Regions from separate parts of the Homo sapiens genome. Here regions 1 and 3 are each linked to region 2. The links are contacts of gene promoters, found by promoter capture Hi-C in blood cells and fetal thymus (Javierre and others, 2016). All regions are on one chromosome and are shown on one strand. The core of a region is centred on a gene start or on the middle of the fragment in contact, and the rest is flanking DNA. Distances in the headings are between cores, read along the strand shown.

Region 1 (2,700 bases), core at 168-2,667, 430 kb after region 2:
AAGATGGTAAGAAGAACCAGGTAGCCATTCAATATTTACTGTCAATTAATGAGAGTTCATTAATTCCATAGTAGAAAAGGATAATTTGACCAGGCGCGGTGGCTCACGCCTCTAATCCCAGCACTTTGGGAAGCCAAGGCGGCTGGATCACGAGGTCAGGAGATCGAGACCATCCTGGCTAACATGGTGAAACCCTGTCTCTACAAAAAATACAAAAAATTAGCTGGGAGTGGTGGCGGGCACCTGTAGTCCCAGCTACTTGGGAGGCTGAGGCAGGAGAATGATGTGAACATGGGAGGCGGAGCTTGCAGTGAGCCAAGATCATGCCACTGCATTCCAGCCTGGGTGACAGAGCCAGACTCTGTCTCAAAAAAAAAAAAAAAAAGGATAATTCAAGTTATACCATGCTGACAATCACCCAGTCAAAAACCCGTATTTCAAGCTAAGTCATCCTTTCTCTAGGGAGAAGTACTCTTCTCTAGAAGGGAAGTAGCTAAAAAGTTTAGTTAGCTAAAAAGTTCCTCTATTTGTTCTTTTAAAAATATACATAGTGGTTGGGCCCAGTGGCTCACACCTGTAATCCCAGCACTCTGGGAGGCCGAGGCAGGCGGATCACCTGAGGTCAGGAGTTCGAGATCAGCCTGGCCAACATGACGAAACCTCGTCTCCACTAAAAATACCAAAAATTCGCTGGGCGTGGTGGCGGGTGCCTGTAATCCCAGCTACTCGGGAGGCTGAGGCAGGAGAATCACTTGAACCCAGGAGGCGGATGTTGCAGTGAGCCGAGATCGTGCCATTGCACTCCAGCCTGGACAACAAGAGCGAAACTCCATCTCAAAAAAAAAAAATATATATATATATATTTTATATATACACACACACATACACACACACACAGAGCATGTGAATGTTTTGTGATATGGGGTCAGTGGAAGGAAACAAGAAATCAATAAACAGAATCAATCCTTGGGAAAGCAGACTGCCTACTCACACACTTACCTGTTTAATATTGGCTCCTTGCCGGCCAATGATGAGTTTCACAGCCTCCTGGGGAACCCGCATCTCTATCTCAATGTCATCTTCCCCAACAAATGTCAGCCGCTCTTCTGCACAGATCATTGTTCATCAGATCAGACTTAGATAACACCCAAAGCTAGTATAACTACCAGTCCTCCCCAGAATCTGGCTGTCAAAGAGACACTGATCCAAGAGATAAAGTGAGGATCTCAACCATAACAACAAGGAAAAGTGGCATCTGAATGGGAATTAGAAGGTCCCAAAGGATCAGAGATGGGCATTTTCTCTGGGACACTGTTTCAGATGCTAAAATGGGAAAAGCAGATTCTGCAATAAACAGGTGCTGGGGTTTGGGCAAACTACTTCTCCCAAGACATGACTACTGGAGAAGAATGAAGGCCAAAAGTTACCTGAGGGGTCCATTAGGCTCAGAACTTCTCCTGACTGATAGGTACATAAGTCATTTCTCTAGGTCCTATTCTCTAGATCCAGCCTTTGAGGTAAGTGCCTTCTACTAACAACTAATTAGAGAAAAGGAATATATAAAAAAGATGAGTATAGAAATTAAAAAAGAACTCTTTGCTGTGTTGATGTTGCTGAAGAAAGCACATCAATGGAGTTATAAAATGAGTTCATTTCATAGACTAGCTTACTTTGCTATGTAAGAACATAGCAAAGACTAGGCCAGGTGCAGTGGCTCATGCCTGTAATCTCAGCACTTTGGGAGGCCGAGGCAGGTGGATCACTTGAGGTCAGCCACCCTGGTGGTGAAACCCCGTCTCTACTAAAAATACAAACATTAGCCAGGAGTGGTGGCACACGCCTGTAATCCCAGCTACTAGGGTGGCTGAGGCAGGAGAACTGCTTGAACTCGGGAGGCAGAGGTTGCAGTGAGCCGAGATTGCTCCACTGCACTCCAGTGTGGGCGACAGAGTGAGACTCTGTCTCAAAGAAAAAAAAAAGACTAAATAATTTTAGTCAAAGATTCCTCACAGAAAGTCAATTAAAATACCTGGGTCAGGCATGGAGGCACATGCCTGTAATCCTAGCACTTTGGGAGGCCGAGGCAGGTGGGTTGCTTGAGCTCAGGAGTTCAAGACCAGCCTGGGCAACATGGGAAAACCCCATCTCTACAAAAAATACAGGCCTGTGGTCCCAGCTACTTGGAGGCTGAGGTGGGAGGATTGCTTGAGCCCAGGAGGTCGACACTACAGTGAGCCAAGATTGTGCCACTGTACGCCAGGCTAGGTGACAGAGTGAGACCCTGTCTCAAAAAAACCCCACAAAAAACCCCAAAACAAAACACACACAATACCTGGCAAGGAAAGAGTTTTTTTCAATTTAACAAGGCAGGAGCATGTCTGAACATTTTCACACACACAGTCATAGGGTTCACGTACCTCTGCTTTCCCTATACCTGCGGTATAGGATATAGGCAACTGTTGCACTGGCTGGGATCCCAAGGCCCAGGGCTATTTTCTGAATGGTGGACAGGCTTGTCCAAGAAGTCCGTTCAGTAGACATTTTCTGCTGTACTCTTTGACTTATATCCTGAAACAAGCAAAGCAGGGAAAAGAGGGAGGTTTCATCCAATCCTTTTATGAATAGCAGAGAGGCATGGGAGCACATTATTACTGAAAAGACTACTACTGCCTACCTTCCAATTTCAAGAGCTTCAGCAAT
Region 2 (2,700 bases), core at 1-2,500:
TTTCCCTGTCTCTTTATCTGACTGCTAGGGAGGGAAAAGGACTGAAATGCCCAGCAGGTGCTCAAGAATTGCTACCATGGCCAAAAATCTCCCTCTGCTCCCATGCCCTTGCTGAGAGGCAGTTCATCTACAGCCAAAGTGAAGTGCTGCAGGGATCTATACTCAGGTCTTGGACAGGACTTGGAGATGTGATGAGTACTTACGAAATGGTACCTCGGAGCCTCTGAAGAAGGGTGGTAGGTTCCCCAGCCTCAGCACCACCTGGGGGGGCCCTTCCCCCAGTCTTGGGGCTCTTAGCATCAGGCTCATCTTCTGCCATCCCGGCATGAGGGCTAGAATTGAGAGGGACAGGCATAAAGATGTAACTCACACTGGCCTTCCCTTCCCCAGAAGGCCCCAGGGCACTCCTCATCTCTTTACCCAGAAAGGCAGAGAAACAGAAACAAAGCCTCCGAATTTCCCCGGTGGTCTTTTTCTCACCACTTGCCTTCTCCGAAAATTAGAAATTATTCCATTACTTCGCCAGGCCCATATATGCCCAAAGAGATCTTTGCCATCTCCATTCTATCTGCCCCACCTTTCTGAAGTCTCCTAAATCTGGAAAACTGTAAAGGAAGAGATAGGGGGATTGGGAATCCATGTTAGCAAGAAATTTTCATTTCTGCCTCTGACCCCATACTGCCCTCCTCCCCCTCAAAAACAACAATAACAGCCACAAAACAAAGTTCTCTAATTCTCAAAAATACTCCTCACCATTGCATATGCCTGGGAGGTCAGAAAGGATACGAACATATTCTGCCCTTCTAGGCTTGGAAAAAAAACTGGGCCCAAGTTCTCATTACTTAATCTCGCCACGACTTCCCCCGCTGCTCCCCCTCCCCACGTCGCCGGCCCCTACGTCATCTCCCACAACAGCCCATCCTGAGGCGCGCCCCCACCTCCTTCCCTTCCCCCTCCATTCAATCCCCGGTTTCTGCAAAGTGGAGCGGGGGTGGGGCGGGGTAGCGGAACTCATGCGCTGGGCGTCAGAAACCCGGCAGGGGAATGGGGTCCCAGATTCCGGGCACGTGCACATGGGTGAAGAAGCTGTTGAAAATACAGCTACAATCTTTTTCTGCTCTCCTCCCAACTCATCTTGCCCCTCCCTACCTCTGAACAGTCGCCTTCCAACACAAGCAACAATAAAGGTAAGGGAGAAAGAGAAACTACCTCGTAGCCACCTTCACTCCAGCCCAGCCCCAAGGTCCTGGCCCAGCCGGCTCGTGCGTTGCTTTATTTTCCTTTTTCTGAATGGTTGTAACAGCCGCGATCTGCCTAGATACACGGGCGGCCTGCTCTGTCATTGGTCACTGCTGCCACCCGGAGACAGAAGGCGCCGGGCTCGTACCGGCGGCCGCTGAAGTCTGCCTGGTAACAGAATCTGATTGGTCAATAGGGGAGGGAAAATCCAAAGTTGGTCTTATTTGAGTCAAGAGGGGGAAGTCCGGGTTGGGTTTCGGTTAAAACTGGGGTCGGTTGGGACTGCAGGTCCCAAGAGGTTCTTCTCTTAAAGGGACCGCAGGATGAAAGAACGGGCGCTCGGCTCCCTTTGGAACTGTCTTTTCTTTTGCCCTCCCCTTTTGTGTTTCAGTTTAGTCTACGGTCCTCAGAGCTGCCGGAAGAGAAGAATCAATGGATGATAAAATAACTAGACAATGATGGGTAGGAGTGATGGAAGTTCACTGTAAGCTCCTATAACCCCCCATCACCATCACCACATGCCTAATACAACCTGCAGACACACTTACTCGCAACAGACCTGCAATCTGGGCTCTCTTTTCCTTCTTGATGGAGGCCTCAAAACCTCAGCAGTTGTACCCATTAAACTAAAATGCTTTTTCCCTCTTAGTATTTCTTGGTTTCCCGTGTGTACTTTACTTCCAAAGAGTTGCAAATGCATTTGCATCCCCATAGTTCTGCAGTCGGTGAACCCTGGAATTTTGATGGACTCCCACGGGGGTGCTGGATGCCACAGGAACTTTTTACACTCAGGGAACATTGTACTGAATAGGTCATGGGTTCTTAACCCTCTTACTTAAGACATTTTAAGGTTATGAATCAGACAAAAGCAATGGACCCTCTACCATGAAAAATGCACACAGAGACCAAGTTTTGCATCTAATTTCAGAGAGGTCATGGACTCCAGGTTGAAAGCCTCTTACATGGATGTATTTTGTTTTGCGCAGCGGTCATGTTACAACCAAAACTGTATTTGCCATCCTGACATCTAATATGTTCTCCAGGCTCATCATTAATGTGCTTTTGTAAAGAAGACAGTAGTGCTGCCTGAGCTCATCACCATTGCCCTTTACAGCCTACCTTTCCCTATTATCAGCTTCTATGAGTGCTGGGGGAACCCAGGAGATTGTGGAGTTGGGGCAATAAGGATATATTGGCAAGAGGTTTTCTTTTTTCTTTCTTTCTTTCTTTTTTTTTTTTCTTTGAGACGGAGTCTCGCTCTGTTGCCCAGGCTGGAGTGCAATGGCACGATCTTGGCTCACTGCAACCTCCGCCTCCTGGGTTCAAGCGATTCTCCTGCCTCACCCTCCCGAGTAACTGGGTTTACAGACGTGCATCACCACGCCCAGATAATTTTTGTGTTTTTAGTAGAGACGGAGTTTCACCATGTTGGTCAGGCTGGTCTCAAACTCCTGACTTCAG
Region 3 (2,700 bases), core at 55-2,554, 460 kb after region 2:
CTGCCTCCCATCTGGATTAAGGGCCCTTCTTTTGGGCTTTCCTCTGTGTAGCACTTACTACATTGCAGGAAAATGGTCCAATTTGTCTGCCTTCCCACCCTAGATTTCAGCTCCTTGGCTGAGGTCTCTCTTTCCCTGTCTCCTCTGTACCTATCATAATGCTTAGCACATGGCACATGCTTAATAACTCTTTGAACTAAACAGACTTTCTAAGCAGGCACCTAACACTGCAAGTAGCAAACCAATGCTGCCAGCACTCAGCCAAAGGGGAGATGAAAAAGGCACAGAAACCAGTGAGCAGACGGAGGCAGGGAGACCTCACTGGAGCAAGGCTGAAAGAACAATTTATCTCTTGCAGTCTCCTCTACAACCAAGAGGCTTAAAAATGTCTCTTGCCTGCCATTGCCTCCCTCCCCCAGCTTAGTTTCCTTGGAAAGAGGCAGTCAGAGAAAAGCAGGCAGCAGGGTGTGATCCCTTCATATCTCCTAGATTCTCTCTCTTCCTCACCACTGCTTTATTCTGAGCTTTTTTGGGCTATGGCAATAGCTTCCTTCATTCATTCAACAAATATTTGTTGAGAACACATCTGGATCTGAGCTAGGCACTGTGATGGCCTCTAGTGATATATCAGATATATCAGTCAATAAAGTATAATCTGTACCTTGATTAAATTTACATTCTGGTGAGGGGCCCAGAAAATAAATATGTAGTGTATCAGATAATAAGTTCTTTAAAGAAAACTAAAGCTTTTTGTATGGGGTTACTGGTCAGGAAAAACCTCTCCCGAATGAAGAGATGGGGTAAGCCATTTGGAAAACTGGGGGAAGAACCCTCCAGGTGACTACAATAGCAGGTACAAAAGCCCTGCGACTGGGTTTGATGTGTTCGAGGAATAGCAAGGAAGCAAGTGTGGCTGCAATGGGTGTTTGAAGGGGCAGTGGAAGATCAAGTGAGAAAAGAAGGCAGGGATCATGTTATGAGCCACTTGACCATGACGCAGACTCTAGATTTGATTCTCGGCATCACAGGCAGCTACAGGAGGGCTGAGAACAGGAGTCAAGGCCAGGTGTGGTGGTTCACGCCTGTAATCCCAACACTTTGGGAGGCCAAGGTGGGCAGATCACCTGAGGTCAGGAGTTCGAGACCAGCCTGGCCAACATGGTGAAACCCTGTCTCTACTAAAAATACAAAAATTAGCCGGGCGTGTAATCCCTGTAATCCAAGCTACTCAGGAGGCTGAGGCAGGACAATCGCTTGAACCTGGGAGGTGGAGGTTGCAGTGAGCCGAGATCACACCACTGCACTCCAGCCTGGGCGACAGAGCAAGTCTGCCTCAAAACAAACAAACAGAACAAACAAACAACAACAACAAAAACAAGAAAAAAACCACAGGAGTAGGGCATGATGAGATTGCATTTTTAAAAGGGCTACCGTGGGTGCGGAGTAGGTGTGGTTGCTACAGGGCAGATGAGGGTGGAACAGGGGCTCAGTTAGGAGGCCTCTCTTAAAGTCCAAGTGAAAGCTGAGAGCTGGTAGGGGCCAGGGTGGTGGTAATAGTAGGGAAGGTGATGTATTTTGAAAGCAGATCCAACCGGATGTGCTTTCCAATTGCTCTCCCAGATTCCTGTCTCTCCTCCTTCAAATCCATCCTGTAGCAGATTAAAGTTCAAGTTCTTGAGAGCACAGACCGTGTAAGTCATTGCTGTATCCTTAACACCCAGCCCTGTGCCTGGCACATAGCAAAGGCCTGCTTGAATAATTACATAAATGGTTCCTTTATACTGGTTCCAAAGTAAATTGCCTAAATGACAGCTCTGATTGTGTCATTTTTCTAGCCTTTGGAGCTCCCTGTGGCCTAGAAATAAAGCTTTAACGCTTATATGGCATTGAAAGTCCTCTCTGATTTGCCCCTGACCTAATTTTCAGGCTGATCATCTGGTGCTCTTCTGCCCCACCAGTCTATCCCAGCTCCTGATTTTACACTTTAGTGAGGATGTACCATGAGTGATTCTCCACATACACACTATTTTGCCTCCTTATTTTTCTCCTGTTGTTCTTGGTCTTCATTGTACCCTAGTCCCACACCCAAATCCCATAAAACAATTATCCCCAGCCTCTCATACTCATCTCATCCATTTTTTTGGTTAAACCTCAGGAAAAGGATTTTTTTTCATTTTTTTTGTTTTGCTCCTATTGTTCCCTAAGCCTGGAATGCCTGCCCCACCCCCATGAATGCCTGTTAAAATCTTACATCATTCATGGCCTAGTATAAATGTCATCTTCCCTGGGAAGTATTTATGACCCACTCCTTTTACCCCCAAATTATTTTTAATCCCTGTTTTATACTCTCATAACATTTTCCTGGTGTCACTTATTATAGTTATACATAGGGGACACAGGGATAGAAAGAGCGCAAAGAGCACTGGGATTCAATCTTGCATTTAAGTCACTGAAGTCTCCTGATAGCTACAAGGAGATTTTTTTTTTTTTTTTGAGACAGAGTTTGCTCTTGTTGCCCAGGCTGGAGTGCAATGGCACAATCTTGGCTCACTGCAACATCTGCCTCCCGGTTTCAAGCGATTATCCTGCCTCAGCCTCCCAAGTAGCTGGGTCTACAGGCGCCTGCCACCATGCCTGGCTAATTTTTTTTATTTTTAGTAGAGATGGGGTTTCACCATGTTAGTCAGGCTGGTCTCGAAC

What was found. The method cuts DNA at HindIII sites, captures the fragments that hold promoters and counts their contacts. A CHiCAGO score of 5 or more calls a contact.
Region 1: a contact is called between a fragment that was not itself captured here and the fragment with the promoter of RFX5 in region 2, in 1 of 17 cell types (M1 macrophages). The highest score is 5.5, in M1 macrophages.
Region 3: a fragment that was not itself captured here is called in contact with the fragment with the promoter of RFX5 in region 2 in 2 of 17 cell types (M1 macrophages and M2 macrophages); the score reaches 5.9 in M1 macrophages.

The regions. Positions count from the first base shown.
Region 1 is chr1:151,780,482-151,783,181 of GRCh38, forward strand. It overlaps TDRKH (tudor and KH domain containing), which reads right to left. Exons shown (of 13, transcript NM_001083965.2): 2 at 2,418-2,568; 3 at 1,000-1,106. The coding sequence starts at 2,541. Among named protein-coding and RNA genes, the nearest start is that of TDRKH, 8.7 kb to the right of the region's middle. The HindIII fragment of the contact is 4,445 bases long and covers 1-2,700 here.
Region 2 is chr1:151,346,002-151,348,701 of GRCh38, forward strand. RFX5 (regulatory factor X5) reads right to left here and starts at 1,251. Exons shown (of 11, transcript NM_001025603.2): 1 at 1,210-1,251; 2 at 488-605; 3 at 204-332. The coding sequence starts at 319. RFX5-AS1 (RFX5 antisense RNA 1) reads left to right here and starts at 1,009. Exons shown (of 2, transcript NR_131972.1): 1 at 1,009-1,187; 2 at 1,631-1,890. RefSeq lists enhancers at 84-173, 513-1,712, 767-1,349, 1,316-1,665. The HindIII fragment of the contact is 13,633 bases long and covers 1-2,700 here.
Region 3 is chr1:151,808,057-151,810,756 of GRCh38, forward strand. The region is part of intron 10 of RORC (RAR related orphan receptor C); the gene reads right to left. Among named protein-coding and RNA genes, the nearest start is that of LINGO4, 4.0 kb to the left of the region's middle. RefSeq lists an enhancer at 790-1,290. The HindIII fragment of the contact is 1,121 bases long and covers 745-1,865 here.